Linked DNA regions of Homo sapiens: all the other regions are linked to region 3. Evidence: promoter capture Hi-C in 16 types of primary human blood cells and fetal thymus (Javierre and others, 2016). All regions are on one chromosome and are shown on one strand. Each heading gives the region's core, a stretch centred on a gene start or on the middle of the fragment in contact. The rest is flanking DNA. Distances are from core to core; before and after follow the strand shown. Region 1 overlaps KYAT3 (kynurenine aminotransferase 3). Region 2 holds the start of GTF2B (general transcription factor IIB). Region 3 holds the start of LRRC8D (leucine rich repeat containing 8 VRAC subunit D). Region 4 overlaps GBP7 (guanylate binding protein 7). Region 5 overlaps KYAT3 (kynurenine aminotransferase 3). Region 6 overlaps KYAT3 (kynurenine aminotransferase 3).

Region 1 (3,065 bases), core at 336-2,835, 830 kb before region 3:
CCTGGTTTATTCTCTCAAAAAAAATTGGGTTCAAGCCAAGACCTTGGAAGAGTGAGTAAGTGAAGGGAGTGCGTGAGTATTGTCCTCACCCATATCAATAGGCCTGGGGCCCTTCTGCCTGCCTACACTGTGTAATCTCAGCTCCCCCAATCACAGCTATAAATCAGAGTTGGACAGTCAGGCTGAACCAATCAAGACAACTAGAAGTTTGGGTTTGAGGCTGAGAAACAGGCTGTTTCTTCTGGGCACATGAAACAGAAGATTGGTAAGTTTGAATCTGGGCAAGTCTGTGTTCAATCCCTCACACACATGCCATGTTCTGTGCCAAAAACACACCTACGTTCCAAGTATATTGTTCAAGGTTGTTTAATGCAAAGAGCTTTCAAGCCAGATAGATCTTAGTTCAAAATTAAACATCAAAACTCCTAGTGTGTGAAGTAGGCAGGTTACCTGACATCTCTGAAATTCAGTTTCCTTATTTGCTAAGCAGGAAAATGAATACCTGCCCCATGTAAGTGCTATGGCAATTAAATGAGGCAAAGCCATAAGCAGAAAAATATAGTTCATGGCATACAATATATATACTCCAAAACTAGTGCCCACTCAGAAAGTAGGAAAGATTCTCTTAGATACAAGTAAGGATGAGTAACTTTGCACTAAAGGAGGCAAAGAGATATTGGGTATGGACTAAATGTACAAAAGGTGATACTTTCACATCAAAAGAGAGGGTTGGGCTGGACGCAGTGACTCATGCCTGTAATCTCAGCACTTTGGGAGGCTGAGGAGGGTGGATCACTTGAGCCCAGTAGTTTGAGACCAGCCTGGCCAACATGGCAAAACCCCGTCTCTACAAAAAATACAAATATTGGCCGGGAGTGGTGGCGGGCACCTATAGTCCCAGCTACTCAGGAGGCTGAGGCAGGAGAATTGCTTGAACCCGAGAGGCGGAGGCTGCAGTGAGCCGAGATTGCGCCATTGCACTCCAGCCTGGGCGGCAAGAGTGAGAGACTGTATGAAAAAAAAAAAAGAGAGAGAGAGAGAGACAGAGAGAGTTGATTTCCTTAAGGAAGGACAGACCTAAGGAAAAGGTTTTGTCCAGTGTTGCTTTTGCGCTTCTCTGGTGGACATTTAAATTTTAGACTCTCTTAAAAAAAAAAAAATTAATAGACTATTTTAGGGCCAGGCGCGGTGGCTCACGCCTGTAATCCCAGCACTTTGGGAGGCCGAGGCAGGTGGATCACAAGGTCAGGAGATTGAGACCATCCTGGACTACAGGTGTGTGCCCAGCTAATGTTTTGTATGTTTAATAGAGATGAGGTTTTGCCATGTTGCCCAGGCTGGTCTTGAACTCCTGGTCTCAAGCGATCCACTGGCCTCAGCCTCCCAAAGTGCTGGGATTGCAGGTGTTAGCCACTGCGCCCCGCCTACATTTTTCCTTTAGCATTCAAAACATTCTTTAAAATTAGAGAATATGTAAAATGTTTTTGTAAAAAAGCAAGTAATACAGGAAAATACAGCCTATCCTTCATTCTATTCCCTTCCCGGCAGATTTTCATGACATTAAGGATGATGTGGATGAAACGAATATTCTAAGTAAGTTCACAGTAACTTATCTGGCTGGTTCTGACAAGTCTTTCTTGATTTAAACTTATCACTATTGCTTTTGTAACACTGGCCAGTGTTTTTCATTCGTCCAGCAATAGGAAGAATATTTATCTTTATCCCTGTGCGACTATTTTAAATGCAAAGCCTCTGATGAACTGTAGACACTTTTCCAATGTAGTTAAAATGATACAAACACTTTGGCAGTTACTTAATTAAACATAAAGCTACCACACAACCCAACCATTCCACTGCTAGGTATGGAGAGGGGTTAGTGCTATCCCAAATAGTCCACAAGTTTGAATAATGCATTGTCAGTGGTTTTTGCCTGGGACATACATCAGAATCAGCTGGAAAGATTTTTCAAAATACATTCCAGATATGTAGAATTAGAATGCATAATGGTGAGCCCTGGCATACGTAGTCTAATAAAAGTTCCACAAATGAGGATTGTGCACACAAATGCCCTTTTAGTGCCATGGTTTCATATGTTCACCTTGGGGAAGCACAACCACTTCCCTGGCTTCAACCGACTTCTATGTTGGGAGAGGGCCTGAAAAAGGTGGTCACGGTGGCATAAAGAGGAGAGAATTCAAGACAGTTATGAGGTAGAATTCATAAGATTTACATATAGAAGACACTGATGATGGTTTTTATGAAAATTTTAAACCACTGAGAAAATTTTAAACCAGTTGAGAGATTAGAATTAGGTTGAATACAAAATTGTCAATATTCAACCAGTTATGACAAAAATGGTACTTCATATGCCAAAAATGGAATTTTCATACAAAAATAGCAATTTCATATACTTTAACCTAATATAAAACACTCATATGCACACTACCCAGATTCAGTAATTCTCAAGATTTTGCCTCTTTTTTTCTGTAATTGCTGAGTAACTTTAGAATAAATCTTAGACCTTAGGTCATTACATCCCTACATACTTGGCATATTATCTAAAAAATATTGCTACTTATATAACTGCAATTTCATTACCACACCTCACCAACAATAATTTCTTGTTAACATCTAATACCCAGTCCACATTCGTATCTCTCTGATTGTCTTTAAAAAATGTCTTTCTGCATTTTGGTTGACTGAATCAAGTTCCTAAAGCAGATGTACGTATTGTATTTGGTGGTTATGGGTTTTAAACCTTTTTCGATCCCTGAGCAGTCCTCCTGAAATATCCTCTTCTACTTTTTTCCCATGCCACTGGACCTATATTCATAACTTGAAGGGTTTTGTGAAGACAAAATGAGGTAATGAATATATAATGACCAGCACATGGCCTGATCCACAGACAGGCAAGCAGTTGCTCAGTGAATGTCAATTCTAGTCAATGACAAGAGACACCTTCAGCATATGTAATAGAAATGTTCATTTCAATAAAGTATTTGTAAAAAAGCATCTGAAAAATTACATATTTTTTGGACAGTGCAGAATATGTACAATAATTTATC
Region 2 (3,252 bases), core at 107-2,606, 930 kb before region 3:
AGCCCAAGTTTTCCATTTACCTACAAGGAGGCCTTACCCGACAGAACAACACCCAGATAGAATGACTGAGCATCCAATCCAAGAATCAGAATCAGTAAACAAGAGTGTCACTGGCTTTATGAGTTCTGTTCAAACAGTATATTAGCTAAAGCTGCCTCCCACCCCAAATTCCTTTTCTAATCATAAAATGTAAGTCTTGGCAGTTACCAGAAAAGGCTATTTTGTAAAAATGGCTTTCACTGTGAAATTAACCAATTCCACAGATGATAGCAGGGTCAGAAAAATAGTGCCAGAGTTCCAGAAGCTGTAGAATTAATTTGATACTTTCAACACAGGATTAGTTAACCAAAGGCCAGGTGTGGATAACAGGAAACAGGTTGTCTTAGACTCTACACTCTAACACGACTCTTGGAAAAGTCAACATTGGCATGACTCAGTTTACACTTATGCAAAAATACTAATATCTACCTCACAGTGGTAATGAGAGACATAATTAGGGTCTGCAAGCATTTTTCAGGTCACAAGATTAAAGGCTGTTTCTGAGGGTACTGCATGCATTTCCTGTAGATATGAGTACACTGCATTCTTAAATATATACTAAAAAGCGACCTCCCAGCACATATAACTAATTTTCTTTGGCAAGATTTTCTTCAGAAGTACACAGGCAACGATATTTGTAAACAAATCCTTTAGCAGGGAACTAATCAACTCTTCCGATGGCTCTAGCTTCCACTTCCGAGGCCCGCTGTGATGGTAACCAACCAGGTTCCATCTGGCTTACCAATGCTGACGTTCCCAACTTCCTAGCTGTCAGATCGATAGGAACCTGAAACTAACTGTTTCCCGTTCCTTTGAAAAGGAGAAATTACGGACCCTCGGGTTGTTTGGGCCGTAGATGAAAAAAACAAGCGGGGGGGGGGGCGCGGGGGAGGAGAGGAGGGAGGGTGGGAAGAAGAGAAAATAAAGGGAGATTGAAATATTGGGAAAAGATACGAGGGCAAGGACTGGGGACACAGTAGCCCACCAGGACCCACATAGGGTGATATCTACATAAGACTCCAGGGCAATAACGTCAACAGCTCGGTAACCCCTGCGACACCCTGACAGTCCTGCCGTCTGGAAGTGCCTTTGTCCCGGCCCGTCGGCCAGTCCCGCCGCTTCTCTCCCATACCCCTAGGCGCTCAGCCCTACGAGGCTGCCCGGAGGCCGCCTAAAAGCCGGCGGCGCTCGCGCCCGCCCCTCAGCTCGCCGGGCTCGGCGGGACATACTAACCGGCTGGTAGACGCCATCTTCACGGCGACTGCGGTGCCCGCAACAAGACACAACAGACACACCGAAAGCAGGAAGCGAATGTGGCGAAGAGACGCGCAGAGATGAGTTTTTATAGACGACTCACCCACGCAGTCGTAGCAGAGCAGGGCTACGGGTCGGGAGAAGGGCCAAGAACAGTGAGATCCCATACGTCACGTGCTTTGCGATTTCTTACGTTCTTACTCCGTTTCTGTAATTTGCTATGTTGCTAAGCGAGTCAACGTAACTACCTAGGAAAAGTCTCATGGGAACCCTGCAAAGGGGCTACAACAGAGCTACTCTCAATCTGACAGTTAAAACACAAAGAAAACCCTGGCTTCGTAGTGGTGCCAAAGCCTGCATCCCTAATAGTTTAACCACCCCTTCCTCTCCCACCTTCTCACGGCTACCTTCTCACGGCCACCACCTACCCCGCCCCCAGCCCCCCACCCCGCGTCAGGCACTCCCATTTGAGCCAGTTCTTACGTGCCCCAAGGGTGATTCTTTCTAAGAAATTTGAAATAAAAGGAGAAACTCACTTAGGTCATCCAGAACAGGTGTCTGTTCAGGATCTGTCATCAGCTAGCATGTTGTCTTCTTAGGCACGTCCTTTATACAGGTCATGTAAGTTTATATAGGTTATGGTATCTTGCCTTGCATACCCTTTTAGAATTGGCAGAAGATGAAACAAAACTACGTGAAACCAATGTGTACACAAGAGGCACGACGATATGGGCCATGCTCTGATCATTTTTTTTTCACGGCCTTTGTAACGTTGGCTGATAGCTACATATAGAAAACTTGCGAGAACATCTAGATATTGCAAAATATCCCTAGATTTATTAATTAGCCAAACTAACGTCAAAATTGTAATACCACTATTACTAACAACAATAACAGTTACCGGTGGAGAGTATTCACGTTCTTGGCGTTTTGAACAAAGAACTGGACACAACGCACAAACTAAGGAAAGAATGAAGGAATAAAGGCAGAGATTTATTGAAAACGAAAAGGTAATACCAGCTCAAGACTCCTTTTGCAGAATTTTCGGGGGTTTAAATACCCTCTAGAGGTTTCCCATTGGTTACATGGTGTACACCCTATGTAAATGAAGTAGTGGCTCCACAATCAGTCTGATTGGTTGTGGAAAGCAACCAATCAGAGGCTAAAGTGAAGTTACAAAGTTACACTCCTATGCAAGCGTCTGATTGGTTGCAGAAAGCAACGAATCAGAGATACTTTCAATTTCACATCTGCCACACGGCTAAAGTGTGTGTGTGTGTGTGTGTGTGTGTGTGTGTGGTTGTGTAGTGGGGAGGGGGTTGCAAAGGGAGTAACGTCTGGTTCTTTTGTTACTTAGGTGTGGAAAGTTGGGGTTTTCCTTTTTTTTTTTTTTTTTTGAGACGGAGTCTTGCTCTGTCGCCCAGGCTGGAGTGCAGTGGCGCGATCTGGGCTCACTGCAAGCTCCGCCTGCCAGGTTCACGCCATTCTCCTGCCTCAGCCTCCCGAGTAGCTGGGACTACAGGAGCCTGCCACCACGCCCGGCTAATTTTGTTTTTGTATTTTTAGTAGAGACGGGGTTTCACCCTGTTAGCCAGGATGGTCTTGATCTCCTGACCTCGTCATCCGCCCGCCTTGGCCTCCCAAAGTGCTGGGATTACAGGCGTGAGCCACCGCGCCCGGCCGGGGTTTTCCATTTGATTTAGTTCTAGGAAATCAGTGTGAATCTGCCTTAGGTTCCCTGCCTTCAGACAGTATTCTCCTGCGGCAACACTTTGCTGACAACTATTCTTGAAAATACGGGGATTGGTATTTTCATGGTGGTTTTCATGGGGCTGAGAACTTAGAAGATAATGACTGCTTCCTTCATCTGGGGATGGGATTTAAATGTAATGGAGCACTCACTGTTTTCTTGAGAAGGTGGGAGATACTAGCTTCCTTAGAAAGAAAAAGGGGTGCGAG
Region 3 (3,075 bases), core at 34-2,533:
GGAAGGAAAGTGAGAGCAAAAGGGCCGAGGGCTCAGAATCTGGTGGCATCTTGTAACGGGTCTCGGGCAGTCCCTTGAGTGTATTCTGGACCTCTCTGTTCATGTTCCTGTTTGGGCTGCTCTTCTTCACGTCCAATGCCTGAGGGCCAAGTGCTCACCATCCAAGGGTCAATTCTATCAGCTCCTCTCTGAATCCTTTTCTGAAACCCTGGACAATCATTCTCTTTAATGTCTCACTGTCTCTGAACCGACACCTTCCTGAGTACCTGTAACATTTGTGCAGCATGCTTATTAAGAATATTTAGATGCTGGGTAAACGTTGATTGAACATTTGCTGACATGGAGAGATATTGGTAGAAGACAGATTAGACTTCCGATGGTTTACAGAAACACATGGATTCAGATAAAAGAAGATATGAAAGCACTGGGTTGAACCACATATTTTATTACAACCAAATAACTCCAAATATCCCGCCTTAATTTATTTATTGGCCCCTGCCTCTGCTCACCCACAAAAAAGACTGCAAATGAACCCCGATCCTACAACAACAACAACAAAAAACGGTGACATTATCGGGCTGCAAAACCCTCTTAGCATAGAATAATCTTTTCATCTGCCTCTTTCAGATGTAACATATTTTTGACGAAAAGAATGGGATGAAAACGGCGGGCTCAGATAAAAACAAGAACCGACTTTCCAATACAGCTTCAATAACAGACGGAACACATGAAGCTGAGAAACTCTCCATGCCAAGTAGTAGTTGTGTGTGCCCCAAAGCTCAGATAAGTACTTCTCCTTAGAGTTGGAAGGCACTTAAGTGACTTTTTAACGTAATTCAACTCCCCACCCCCAGCGCCAAGTCTTAATATCAGAGTTTTAGTCGACGGGACAGCCTCCTTCGCCCAGGACGGGTGAAGGCTCCTGACCATGCCTCGCAGCTAACTGGCAGCTGCGCCTGCCCGGCACCGAGCCCTGCCCAGGTGGACGCTTGCGAGAGCATTACGGCGATGGTTATGTAGGCTGCCGTTCTTCCCCTCCCAAGCACCTGCTCCGCATCTAGCAGTCGCTCGCCGCCAGTCTCCAACCCCGGGTCCCCTCCCTCGCCACACAGACCCCGTCCGGTCAGGCGCTGCAGGGCCACCGGAGAAAGCGCTCGCAATCACATGGAGGCCCGGGCCCGCCCCATTGGCTGCGGCCGGGCCAGTCGCGGCACTCGCCGGCTGCGGTTGGTCCCAGAGCTGCAGCGCCTGCACGGGCCCGGAGTCCATGTTACGCTTTGTCTAATTCCCCTCGTTACAGAGTCATGTGCTGCTGCTCCCGTCGCCGCTGCTGCCGCTGCCGCTGCCGCCGCCCGTGGTGCCCCGGCTCCTCCGCCGCGCTTCGAGGTGGCAGCCGCGGGCGGGGCCGCGGGAGCAGGGTCCAGGGTGCAGCGCGCCTTCGCCGCCCCGGCGCGTCCCGGTGCAGCCGCCGCCCGCCGCGGGTGATGCCGCCACCTCCGGCCTCAGCATAAGCCGTGGCTTGGCGGCCGAGCTGCACCCCAAGGTTGGTGCGCACCTCTCCCGGCAGGGGCCGGGGGCTGCGAGGGAAGGCGACGCGCAGGTGGAGCCGCGCCGAGCCGGAGCGCGCAACCCTGGCGCAGGCGCCGCGGCCCGAGCTGCGGTTGCGGCCGGGAACTCATTCGGGGACGTCCGGGGGTCGGGAGGAGGTGGCGGCGAGCGGAGTGGGCTCCCGTTTGCTGCCGCCAGGGCCTGGGAGATTGTTCCGCTTTCTGCAGTCTGAGCGTCGGCCGCTTCGGCCCCGGGCGGCCGGCCCTGCGGGAGGGGAGTGCGGCTTCCTGGCTCCTGAACCCCTCGCGCGCGCTCCCTTCTCTCACCTCCCTCCGCCCTATCGGAAAGGCGGGGAGAGCCGGTTTCGGCTCTGCTGGTTCCTCCCGGAGGTGGGTGTTTGGTGTCTGGCCTTGCTGGCCCGGCGTCCAAAGGTGAGCCCTTTAACTTCTCCAGAATCGCCTCCCCTCCGCTTCCTTCCTGTGCAGGGTGGGCTGCGCTGGGAGCCCGGCGGGCGGGGGCGGGGAGGTGAAGGCCCGCGCCCCGCCCCCCGCGCCTGTGGGAGGGAGCTGGGGGCCCGCAGGTGCACCCAGCCGTCCGCGGGCCGTCTCCGGGTTGGGTACCGGTATAATCCGCTTCTAGCTTGTTTGGAGGCGTGGGCTCTTGGGAGCGGGACTTCTGCTCAAATCCTGTCCAGGGGCTTGAAAAGGAGGAGAATTGGGGGTGGTTGCCGGGAGGACCAGCACCTCCAGTTACTGGAGGGTTGATAGGGGCCTTCTCCTTTCCGTCACCCTTTACTAGGGGGTATCCCTTGCAGATAAATGAGATTTTTTGATTTCTTAAAAAGCCAGCTGCAGTGAAGAAGAACTGCTGCAGGTCGAGGGGAAGAGAGGTAGGTCCTTGCTGGAGAGGGAGAGGTGGGCTGTGAGGTTCCAGGAGCACGCACTTGGGGTGTGTGTGGCCGAAAGTATGGAGGTAGGGTTGTGGGAAGGAAACAGCCGAGATGAGAGGGAGGGCGCACTCAGGATGTAGGCGGAGAGATGGGGAATAGGTACTGGGGAGTCCTAGCGGAATGTGGGGCCCAGCTGGAGCCGCTTGGCTTATATTTGGCTCCTCGTTGCCTCGCAGATTTCCTGCTCTTGGATCTTCAAAAATATTTTTTTGTTGGACAAAGAAAACTCTGAGGACATATTTTGGAAGAGCTGATTTCTGGAAACTTTCCTTGGCAGCTTTGATAGTAAAATTCCGTACAGGCAGCGTTTATTGAGCACCTATTACGTGGTTTGTACCGGACTTTGGAAGAGTCTGGACAGGCAGGGAATCCCCGTTTGCAGTAATGATGAGGGCTGTCTACCTTATAAACAAATAAGGGGCCCCTCCCAGTGCCAAGAATGAGAGTGATCAGACCTTCCTCGCCATAGCATCTGGGACCTCTGCTTCTTACAGACCTGTGGGAAGAACCCTGCACCATATCCTGTAAATGGGGTCCTCAGGCAGCATTTATTTTTGCAGTCCAAAAATAGTGACCAA
Region 4 (3,501 bases), core at 955-3,454, 680 kb before region 3:
AAAGGGGCAGGTCTTCTACAAAGGGAATCCCATCAAGCTAACAGTGGAACTTTCAGAAGAAACCCTACAAGCCAGAAGAGACTGGGGACCTATATTCAGCATTTGTAAAGAAAAGAAATTCCAAGGAAGAATTTCATATCCAGCCAAACTAAGGTTCATAAGAAAAAAAAAATCCTTTTTAGACAAGCAAATGCTAAGGGAATTTGTTACCACCAGACCTGCCTTACTCAAGCTGCTGAAAAGAGCATTAAACATGAAAATGAAAGACCATTATCAGCCACTACAAAAGCACACTTCAGTACATGGATCATTGACACTACAGAGCAATAACACAATCAAGTGTGGATCAAATCCACACATATCAATATTAACTTTGACTGTAAAAGGGCTAACAACCCCAATTAAAAGGCACAGAGTGGCAAGTTGCATAAAGAAATAAGACCCAACTGTCTTCGATGTTCAAGAGACCAATCTCATATGCAATTACACCAATAGGCTCAAAGTAAAGGGATGAAGAAAAATCTATCAAGCAAATGGAAAACAAAAAGAGCAGGGGTTGCTATTCTTATTTCAGACAAAACAGACTCCAAACCAATAATGATCAAAAAGGATAAAGATGGGCATTACATAATGATAAAAGTTTCAATTCAACGAGAAGACTTAATTATACTAAATATGTATGCACCCAATACTAGAGGACCCTAGATTCATAAAACAAGTTCAAAGAGACCTATGAAGAGACTTAGATAACCACACAATAATAGTTGGAGTCTTCAACACTCCACTGACAATATTAGACAGATCATTGAGGCAAAAAACTAACGAAGATATTCAGGACCTAACTTGACATTTGACCAGATGGACCTAACAGACATCTACAGAACACTCCACCCAACAATAACAGAATATACATTCATCTCATCTGCACATGGCACATACTCTAAAATTGACTCCTTGCTCTGCCATAAAGCAATTCTCAACAAATAAAAAAAAAACCCAAATCATACCAATGCTGTCAGACCACAATGCTGTAAAAATAGAAATCAATACAAAGAATATCTCTCAAAGCTATACAATTACATGAAAATTAATTAATCTGCTTCTGAATGATTTTGGGGTAAACAGTGAATTTAAGGCAGAAATAAATTATTTGAAATTAATGAAAACAAAGATACAACCTACCAGAATCTTTGAGACACAACTAGAGCAGTGTTAAGAGGAATGTTAATAGCACTAAACGACTACAGTAGAAAGTTAGAAATATCTCAAATTAACAATCTAACATTACACCTTGAGGAACTAGAAAAACAAAAGTGAACCAAGCACAAAGCTAGCTGAGACAAGAAATAACCAAAATCAGACTTGAAGTGAATAAAGTGGAGACAAGAAAAACCATACAAAAGATCAATGAAACCAATGGTTCTCTGGAAAAATACATAAGATGGATATACTTCTAGTTAGACTAAAAAAGAACAAAAAAAGAGAAGATCCAAATAAACACAATAAAAAAATGGCAAAAGGGACATTGCTATCAACTCCACAGAAATACAAAAAATCCTGAGAGACTATTATGAACACCACTATGCACACTAACTAAGAAACCTAGAAGAAATGGATAAATTCCTGGAAACATACAACCTACCAAAAGTGAACCAGGAAGAAATTGAAACCTGGAACAGACTAATAACAAGTTCCAAAATTGGGTCAGCATTAAAAAGCCTACCAAGCAGAAAAAGCCCTAGACCAGACAGAGTCATAGTCAGTTCTGCCATACATAGAAAGAAGAGCTGGTACCAATTCTACTAAACTATTCCAAAAAAAATGGGGAGCAGGGAATCTTTCCTAATACATTCTATGAGGCCAGCATCATTCTGATTTTAAAAACCTGGCAGAGACACAACAAAAAAAGAAAAATGCAGGACAATATTCCTGATGAACATGGATGAAAAAATCTTCAACAAAATACTAGCAAACCAAATCCAGCAGCACATTAAAAAGCGAACCCACCACTGTCAATTAGGCTTTATTCCTGGAATGCAAGGTTGATTCAGCATATGCTAATAATAAATTGATTCCTCACACAAACGGGACTCAGAACAAAAACCAGATGATCTTCTCAATGGGCACAGAAAAGGCTTTTGATAAAATTCAATATTTCATGTTAAAATATCTCAACAAACTGGGCCTCAAAGGAACATACCTCAAAATAATAAAAGCCATCTATGAAAAACCCACAGCCAACATCATACTGAATGTGAAAAAGCTGGAAACATTTCACTTGAGAACCAAAAACAGACAAGGATGCCCACTCTCAACAACTCTTATTCAACATAGTACTGGAAGTCCTAGCCAGAGAAATCAGGCAAAGGGGAAAAAAAAAGTTATCCAATAGGAAGAGAGGAAGTCAAACTCTCTCTCTTCATAGACAATAGAATTCTGTAGTTAGAAAACTCCATAATTTCTGCCCAAAGTCTCATCCATCTGATAAACATCAGCAAAGTTTCAGGATAAAAAAGTAAATGTACAAAAATAAGTAGCATTTCTACACACCAATAATGTCCAAGCTGAAAGTCAAACCGAGAACACAATCCTATTCACAATAGCTATTGTGAATAACCAAGAATAAAATACCTAGGTTTACAGCCAATCAGGGAGGTGAAGCATCTCTACAATGAGAATTATAAAACACTGCTGAAAGAAATCTGAGACTGCACAAACAAATGGAAAATTATTTCATGCATATGGATAGGAAGAATCAATGTTGTTAAAATAGCCATACTGCCCAAATTGATTTACATATTCAATGCTATTCCTATCAAATTATCGATGACTTTTTAAAAATAGAATTAGTAAAAACTATTCTAACATCCACATGGAACAACAACAACAAAAAAACCCCGAGTAGCCAAGGCACTCCTAAGCAAAAAGAACAAAGCCAGAGACATCACATGACTTGAGTTTAAACTATATTACAAGACTACAATAACCAAAATAGCATGGTGCTGGTCAAAAAACAAAACAAAACAAAACAGACACATGAACAAATGGAAAAGTTTAAAGAAAGCAGAAATAATACCACACACCTACAACTATCTGATCTTTGGTAAAGCTAACAAAAAAAGCAATGGAGAAAGAATGCATTATTCAATAAATGGTGCTGGGTTAACTGGCTAGCTATATGCAGAAGATTGAAACTGGACCCCTTCTTCTCACTATATACAAAAATCAACTCAAGATGAGTTAAAGATGTAAATGTAAAATTTAAAACTATAAAACCACCAAAAGAAAACCTAGGAAATACCATTCTGGACATAGGCACTGGCAAAGATTTCCTGATGAAAACTTCAAAAGCCACTGCAACCGAACAAAAAGTTAACAAGAGGGACCTAATTCAACTAAAGAGTTCATGCACAACAAAGGAAACTATAAACAGAGTAAACAGACAACCTACAGAATGGGAGAAAATATCTGCAAACTATGCATCTGAAAAAAGTCTAATAT
Region 5 (3,037 bases), core at 148-2,647, 870 kb before region 3:
CGCAACTAATTTCATTTTTCTGTTTGCCTTTACTGTCAGGAAGTTTAGTCTCAAGTTAATGCTAATTACAATACTATGTGAACCTAGGTGACTGAAATATTTGCTTTCTTTCCCTCCTATGTGTAACTGATTTTTTTTTTTTTTAATTTAAGAGACAGGATCTCACTATGTTGCCCAGGCTGGTCTTGAACTCCCGGGCTCAAGCAATCCTCCCGCCTTGGCCTCCCAAAGTGCTGGGATTACAGGCAGGAGTCACTGTACTGGCCATGTATCATTGATTTTTGATTTAGATACAATCATTTCTATTTATATATTACTGCATAGAAAACTTTTAATATGAGAAGGCTCACATTCCTTTTGGAAGCATATAAAGTACAAATGTTGTTCTTTTAAAAAAATAATAATTCATATGGAAATCTTGGGGATTTATGATTCAAAGGCAAAAATATAAGTGATGACAACTGTGCTAATTTTTTTTATCATTTCATAAAATGAACTGCACATTTAGACTCAATATAGAAAAAGCACTTCCCAAATCTCAGAGTCTAGAACACCTTAAGAGGTTCTATATAAGCATAGAGCTTGGGAGCCTGCTAAATACAGCTCTATGGCAATAGCACTGCAGGAATCTTTGCTTGTCAAAGCCTCTTCTCTCACAACAAATGAAGAAATAAGCTAATGTGAAAGGAAGGAGAGTGTTTCAGTTTGAGCCAAACCTCATGTAATGAATTCTTATGACTGTATGTTGTCTTGGCATCCATTGTGAATATAAGTTGGTCTTTCTTATACCAGAAGCAGGGCTTAGTCACCCTTGACACAATTTCCACTTCTCTTCCTCCTCACAGTTCCTCAATGTAGTTGATTCAGATATCTGCCTGAGACAACCACCTCCTGGCGAGCACCTCACTGTGGTACAGCTAGATACAACCTACTTGACTCGCCCACTGACCCCCACCCTCCTCATGGACTGCCTAGATATGCCACAGTGACCACCTCTCAGTCACAGCCTGACACCATGAGCTTGTGCCTGCTCGCTCTAAACCCATCTGTTAGAAGTCTCTGCAGGAAACCTGCTTGGGTAACACCTTGGGCCCCCAAAAAGGCTTTGGCCCACAGATCCCACTCTCTCTCTGTTCCCCACCTGCTGGTTGAGTGTGTATATCCTGGACCACTCCTCACTTCCCATTGGTCCCGGGAGGCCTGCTGCCTCTTCTGTGTCCCAACTGACCAACACACCGGAACCTAACTCTCCTCCTCCTAGAGAGTGGCTATCTCTGTGGAAATAAACTGGATACAGGTCAGATGAGAGCCACAAGGATGTCTGCCAGTATAAACCAGTTTCCAGGGATGTCTGGTCATGGGTCAGACACTTAACATCAGGCCATCTGCCAGGATAAACAAGTAGCCCATGAAAGGCACACTGCAAACATCCAGGACCTCCCCTGGAGCCCCATCAGGGAACAGCTAGAGTTTACAGCCACTTTCCAGAGAGACAGACCTGAAGACCAAATTATAGGAAAATCATAACACCTTACTTTTCTGAAATTTGCTAAGATGATAATGAACTATTACAAGTAAAAATTGCTAGCATCAAATGCTTATAGTAAGAAAGAACTCAGCCAGTGGCTCATGCCTGTAATCCCAGCACTTTGGGAGGCTGAGGCAGGTGGATCACTCATTAAGCTCAGGAATTCATGACCAGCCTGGGAAATGTGGCAAAACCTCGTCTCTAAAAAAAATTTAAAAATTAGCTAGGTGTGGTGGTGCATGCCTGTGGTCCCAGCTACTCAGGAGACTCAGGTGGCAGGATGGCTTGAGCCCAGGAGGCAGAGGTTGCAGTGAGCTGAGATCACGCCACTGCACTCCAGCCTGGGTGACAGGGCCAGACCCTGCCTCAAACAAAACAAAACAAAACAAAACAAAACAAAACAAAACAAAACAAAACAAACTCCTATGTGAAGGATGTAAAGTTAAAAAATATGATCAATGTTTTGCTATAAAATTGAAAATTTCCTTTACTCTTTCCAGCTTTATACAATTTAGTATAAATAAAACACTTCAGTTTTTCAAGTTCATTGGCATATAACTTCATTGTAATAAAATTTTAAAACATTTAAAACTATATTTAGAATGGCTGTAATTTCTGTCATGATAAATTAGGCTTCAAGGTTTACTATTACTAATTTTTTTAAAAGAAAAGTTATATATGACACATTATCATGCTTCTAACTTTAGATTTGTATGGCATGTCAGAATTACATATAACAGCTTTAGGTAATATAAAAAACAATGCTTTTTGGAAACAGAACTATTTAGAATCTAGCTGTGTGACTTCAGGGAAGCTATTTAAAACTTTCTAAATCTTTTTACCTGCAAAAATGGAGCTAATGTTTTCTTCAAAAGGGTGTTTTGAGTACGTGGCACAAAGTAGACCCTCAATAAGTGTTATTCTCCCATTTATTTTATTTCAGTACATTCTAAAATGGCAAATATTCCCTGATAGCTTCAAAATTTCTAGATATTTTTCTAATGAAATAGTACATTTTGTTAAGTAAAAAGGAAACTACAATTTTACTCAAATGAACACTGAGTATATAATATTATTTCACACACTTGTGTTTTAAAATTACACACCAGAAGAGAGTGATAGCAAATCCTATGTTTAATAGACTAACTAGAACAACACTGACTCCATAACCATTTAACAATGGTCACATTTAAGGTAAAAGGCCTAAAAGTAAAGATAATTATAGAAAATGTAGACATTGCAAAAATCCATCCTTCTCCACAGATAAAATGCTGCTGTGGCTTTGACACCAATCTTTTCTCCATAATTCTGATATAATTTCACACATAAGTTTCCGTATAGTTGAAATAATAAAAGCCTTTACAAACCTAGCAAAGACACATCAGCGATGATGAAGTATCCTCCATCAGGAACTATGGGTTTTAGGCCAACACTTTCAAGTAAACGTACCATCCGATCTCTTTTTACTTCTAACTCTTTTGGCAAAGAATTAAAGTAACATTCTGGGTC
Region 6 (3,443 bases), core at 832-3,331, 860 kb before region 3:
CACAGGAACTAGCTATAACTATGGTTAACATGTCTGATATTGTAAGGCTAGCTGAAGATTTTGTGACTCACCTTAGTGTATTACTTATGTTAAAAATATTTTAAAAAGACAACTAGACAAATAGAGATATACAGGAAATCTCCAAATGCAATCAAAGTAGAAACTTTATCATGACAAAGTAATTGGTATTTTCAAGACTTCTTAAGTCTTGAAACTTTGCCATATGAACCATACTGGCAAACTTACAGATCTCAGGGGAATAAAAACAGGTGTTGCTCCAGCCATTCTCACCATGGGCTCATAGCAGTCATAGAAAGGCACTATTAGTATGACCTGCAATAAAAGCAAATAAGATCACAACCTGTCAATCATTTATTCATGTTAATAATACTGTGTACCTACTATGGGCTAGGCACTGTACTATGTGTTGGGATACAGCAGTGAAAAAGGCAGGCTTTGCCCTTGTGGAGCTAACATCTGAGGGGAAGAGACCTCGGAGACAAACTTGTCCAGGTAGTCTTAATTGGACTCCTTGGTATCTTAGGGAGATCTATAAATAAGCATGCAGTGGGAGTATTTGAAATTACATATAAAATTTCATATATGCATAGATAGATTTACCTGGAGAATGGGACTATCACATTCTCAAAGGGATATTCCAGGCAAAACGATTAAGCATTTCTTCATATTTCAAATCAGAAAATAAAATCTAGAATATAAGTGATGTATAAGCAGTGACAGACAGCAGGCTATGTGGGAAGAGAACACTGTAATGTTCCCTGGTATAAAGTGCTAATTTAAAAGCATTATCTTGAGAGTAAAGATGTTTCTCTCTTCTCAAAAGCACGGTTAATTTTTGTATTTTTAGTAGAGATGGGGTTTCGCCGTGTTGCCCAGGCTGGTCTCAAACTCCTAACCTCAGGTGATCTGCCTCAGCCTCCCAAAGTGCTGGGATTACAGGCCTGAGCCACCACACTCAGCCTCATCTGTGAAGTTCTCAGGGACTAAGACAATCTATCTTTGTAACTCTAGTGGGAAATATAAAGCTTAATACAAGGTGAGAGCACAATAAAGGAAAATAAATTGGAGAGGCAGGGCAGTAGAGTGGGAGAAATATACCTGTTACTCTTCGCCTTGATTTTTTCACTTTTATGATGTGAACAATTCCTCTCTCTCTTTTTTTTTTTTTGAGAATATTTATTGCGTCCTCACTATTTTAGGTGCTGGCAGTAAAGCTATAAAGTTCTCCTAGAACTTATATCCTACTGAGAGAGGCTTATAATGAACGGAGAGACAAATAAGGACATTAGATAATTTCAGATAGTAATAAATGCTATAAAGAAACAATAAATAGGTCAGTATGATAGCAAGTGACATGTATGTGGTTTCAAAATACTAGATAAGTTGATGAAGGAAGAAAGAATAGAGGAAAGAAAGCTAAGGGCTAAGCCTTATAATACTCCCAACAGAGTGCAGAGAAAGAAGCAACAAAGGATTAACAACATCGAAGTATGAGACAAAACTATGTATAGGATTAAAGGAGTTTATGTATATGAAACTGTGAACTTCATTAACATGTTTCCTTAAACATCTTGTCTGGCATAGTGAAGGGAATCAAAGTTGTAAAAGAATAACATAACACAAAGCAGATAGTGGCATCTTTCATAAAAGTGGTATGATAAAGGGTTATGAGAGTTTAAAGAAAGTTAACAATATAGATCAGGATAAATATTCGTTCTGCAGTCCCAGCTTAAGCAATGTCTCTCTGGAGCTTTCCAGACTTAGCAGAGGTGATTGCCTCTTCCTTTTGTCACTACCATAGTGTTCCTCGTAATCCATTTGCAAGTCTGTGTTCTCTACTAGACAGGGAACACCTTCTGCATAGAATCTATCTTTAAAACATCTTCTATCTCACAGTGCTTAGCATATATTGGATCCTCAGTATTTTCTGAATAAATGAAAGAGGCAAAAAGTATTAAAGTAAGGCTATTGGAATGCTAATGGGAAATACGGGTAGAGATGACTGAGGTAGTTGCAAAAGTTGGTCATACCTCACAGTACTAAATCGCAGAAATCATTTTACCTTCCTATTATATTAATACATTCTCAGCTGGGCGTGGTGGCTCACGCCTGTAATCCCAGCACTTTGGGAGGCTGAGGCAGGCGGATCACCTGAGGTCAGGAGTTCGAGACCAGACTGGCCAACATGGCAAAATCCCATCTCTACTAAAAATACAAAAATTAGCTGGGCTTCGTGGCGGGCGCCTGTAATCTCAGCTACTCAGTAGGCTGAGGCACGAGAATCACTTGAACCCGTGAGGTGGAGGTTGCAGTGACCAAGATCGTGCCACTGCACTCCAGCCTGGGCAACAAAGTGGGACTCCATCTCAAAAAAACAAAAACAATCACAAAAACATCCTCACATGGGATGGCTTATACAATTACTGGGCACACAAAGACATTGATCAAAAACTTGTAGACCAAGTTAAGAGTAAAGGTTATTTTAGCAATGAAAACAAAAGATTCTTTTTCCCTGGCAGTGTTAGTCCCTTCCATCTGCCCTTATTTAAATAGGCTATAAAAATAAGAATAAATTATATGCAACAAAATGGATGAATCTCACAGACACAAAAATAAATGAATGGATCTAGACCCAAGAGTATACACTGTATAATTATATTCATATTAAGTAAAAGAGCAGTGAAAACAAGCCTATGGTAATAGAAGACAGAAGAGTACTTACCTCTGGGAGAATATAGACTCTGAAGAGGAACAAAGAAGTTTTCTGGGTACTGGAAATGTATCATATCTTTGTCTGGTTGTAGTTGCACAGAAATTTACACAGTAATTTATCCAGCTGTACATTTAAGATTTGTGAACTTTACTGTACATGCATTATACTTAAAACATAATTAAAAATAAAAAGAGAAAAGAGTAGAATATAAGCGAAAGATTCAAAGGTGGGACAAATGATAATTGATTAATATGGGTATTACGATAATGTTAATATACTTACTTCATCTCCCTCATCAATTAATGCTTGAATGGTGTTAAAAAGAGATCCATATGCTCCTACTGTCACAAGGATTTCTTTATTTGAATCAATTTGCTTTTGATAAAGCTTTTCATACAGATAGGACAGAGCTTTCACAAGTGATGGATGGCCCTGTTGGATTAAAAATAAGAACAAAACCTTGAATTTAAATATGGGACCTACTGTTTGAGGTAATATGGCTCTAAAATGTAAGAATTTTTAAAATTTGGATTTGATGTTTATAATTACCCCAAGAAAATTTATATTTTTTAATGGCAATAAATTTTTTAAAATTTCCTACATTTAGAGTATTCCCACACTATTTGTCATGAAGGCTTGCTAATGATTAAAACTTCTTACTAAATAAAGGGTTTGGGATTATATAATTTCAAAGTATTTGCTTTGAATA

The links. The method cuts DNA at HindIII sites, captures the fragments that hold promoters and counts their contacts. A CHiCAGO score of 5 or more calls a contact.
Region 1: a fragment that was not itself captured here is called in contact with the fragment with the promoter of LRRC8D in region 3 in 4 of 17 cell types (neutrophils, fetal thymus, total B cells and 1 more); the score reaches 10.5 in neutrophils.
Region 2: the fragment with the promoter of GTF2B here is called in contact with the fragment with the promoter of LRRC8D in region 3 in 4 of 17 cell types (activated CD4 T cells, naive CD8 T cells, neutrophils and 1 more); the score reaches 8.0 in activated CD4 T cells.
Region 4: a contact is called between a fragment that was not itself captured here and the fragment with the promoter of LRRC8D in region 3, in 1 of 17 cell types (neutrophils). The highest score is 5.1, in neutrophils.
Region 5: a contact is called between a fragment that was not itself captured here and the fragment with the promoter of LRRC8D in region 3, in 2 of 17 cell types (activated CD4 T cells and naive CD8 T cells). The highest score is 7.1, in activated CD4 T cells.
Region 6: a contact is called between a fragment that was not itself captured here and the fragment with the promoter of LRRC8D in region 3, in 6 of 17 cell types (activated CD4 T cells, naive CD8 T cells, total CD8 T cells and 3 more). The highest score is 9.5, in activated CD4 T cells.

The regions. Positions count from the first base shown.
Region 1 is chr1:88,985,167-88,988,231 of GRCh38, forward strand. The region is part of intron 2 of KYAT3 (kynurenine aminotransferase 3); the gene reads right to left. The region is part of intron 2 of RBMXL1 (RBMX like 1); the gene reads right to left. Among named protein-coding and RNA genes, the nearest start is that of KYAT3, 5.9 kb to the right of the region's middle. The HindIII fragment of the contact is 3,376 bases long and covers 1-3,065 here.
Region 2 is chr1:88,890,211-88,893,462 of GRCh38, forward strand. GTF2B (general transcription factor IIB) reads right to left here and starts at 1,357. Exons shown (of 7, transcript NM_001514.6): 1 at 1,273-1,357. The coding sequence starts at 1,289. RefSeq lists an enhancer at 1,533-1,642. The HindIII fragment of the contact is 16,776 bases long and covers 1-3,252 here.
Region 3 is chr1:89,819,749-89,822,823 of GRCh38, forward strand. LRRC8D (leucine rich repeat containing 8 VRAC subunit D) reads left to right here and starts at 1,284. Exons shown (of 3, transcript NM_001134479.2): 1 at 1,284-1,543. It overlaps LRRC8D-DT (LRRC8D divergent transcript), which reads right to left and starts at 2,046. Exons shown (of 1, transcript NR_185885.1): 1 at 426-2,046. RefSeq lists silencers at 813-872, 1,313-1,662, 1,763-1,862, 1,953-2,162, 2,034-2,253. The HindIII fragment of the contact is 10,555 bases long and covers 1-3,075 here.
Region 4 is chr1:89,135,449-89,138,949 of GRCh38, forward strand. The region is part of intron 9 of GBP7 (guanylate binding protein 7); the gene reads right to left. All of the region lies in intron 1 of LOC105378842 (a long non-coding RNA gene), which reads left to right. Among named protein-coding and RNA genes, the nearest start is that of GBP2, 11 kb to the left of the region's middle. The HindIII fragment of the contact is 8,826 bases long and covers 1-3,501 here.
Region 5 is chr1:88,946,196-88,949,232 of GRCh38, forward strand. It overlaps KYAT3 (kynurenine aminotransferase 3), which reads right to left. Exons shown (of 14, transcript NM_001008661.3): 11 at 2,896-3,037. Among named protein-coding and RNA genes, the nearest start is that of KYAT3, 45 kb to the right of the region's middle. The HindIII fragment of the contact is 3,334 bases long and covers 1-3,037 here.
Region 6 is chr1:88,961,813-88,965,255 of GRCh38, forward strand. KYAT3 (kynurenine aminotransferase 3) reads right to left here. Exons shown (of 14, transcript NM_001008661.3): 5 at 3,017-3,166; 6 at 247-333. Among named protein-coding and RNA genes, the nearest start is that of KYAT3, 29 kb to the right of the region's middle. The HindIII fragment of the contact is 2,075 bases long and covers 1,045-3,119 here.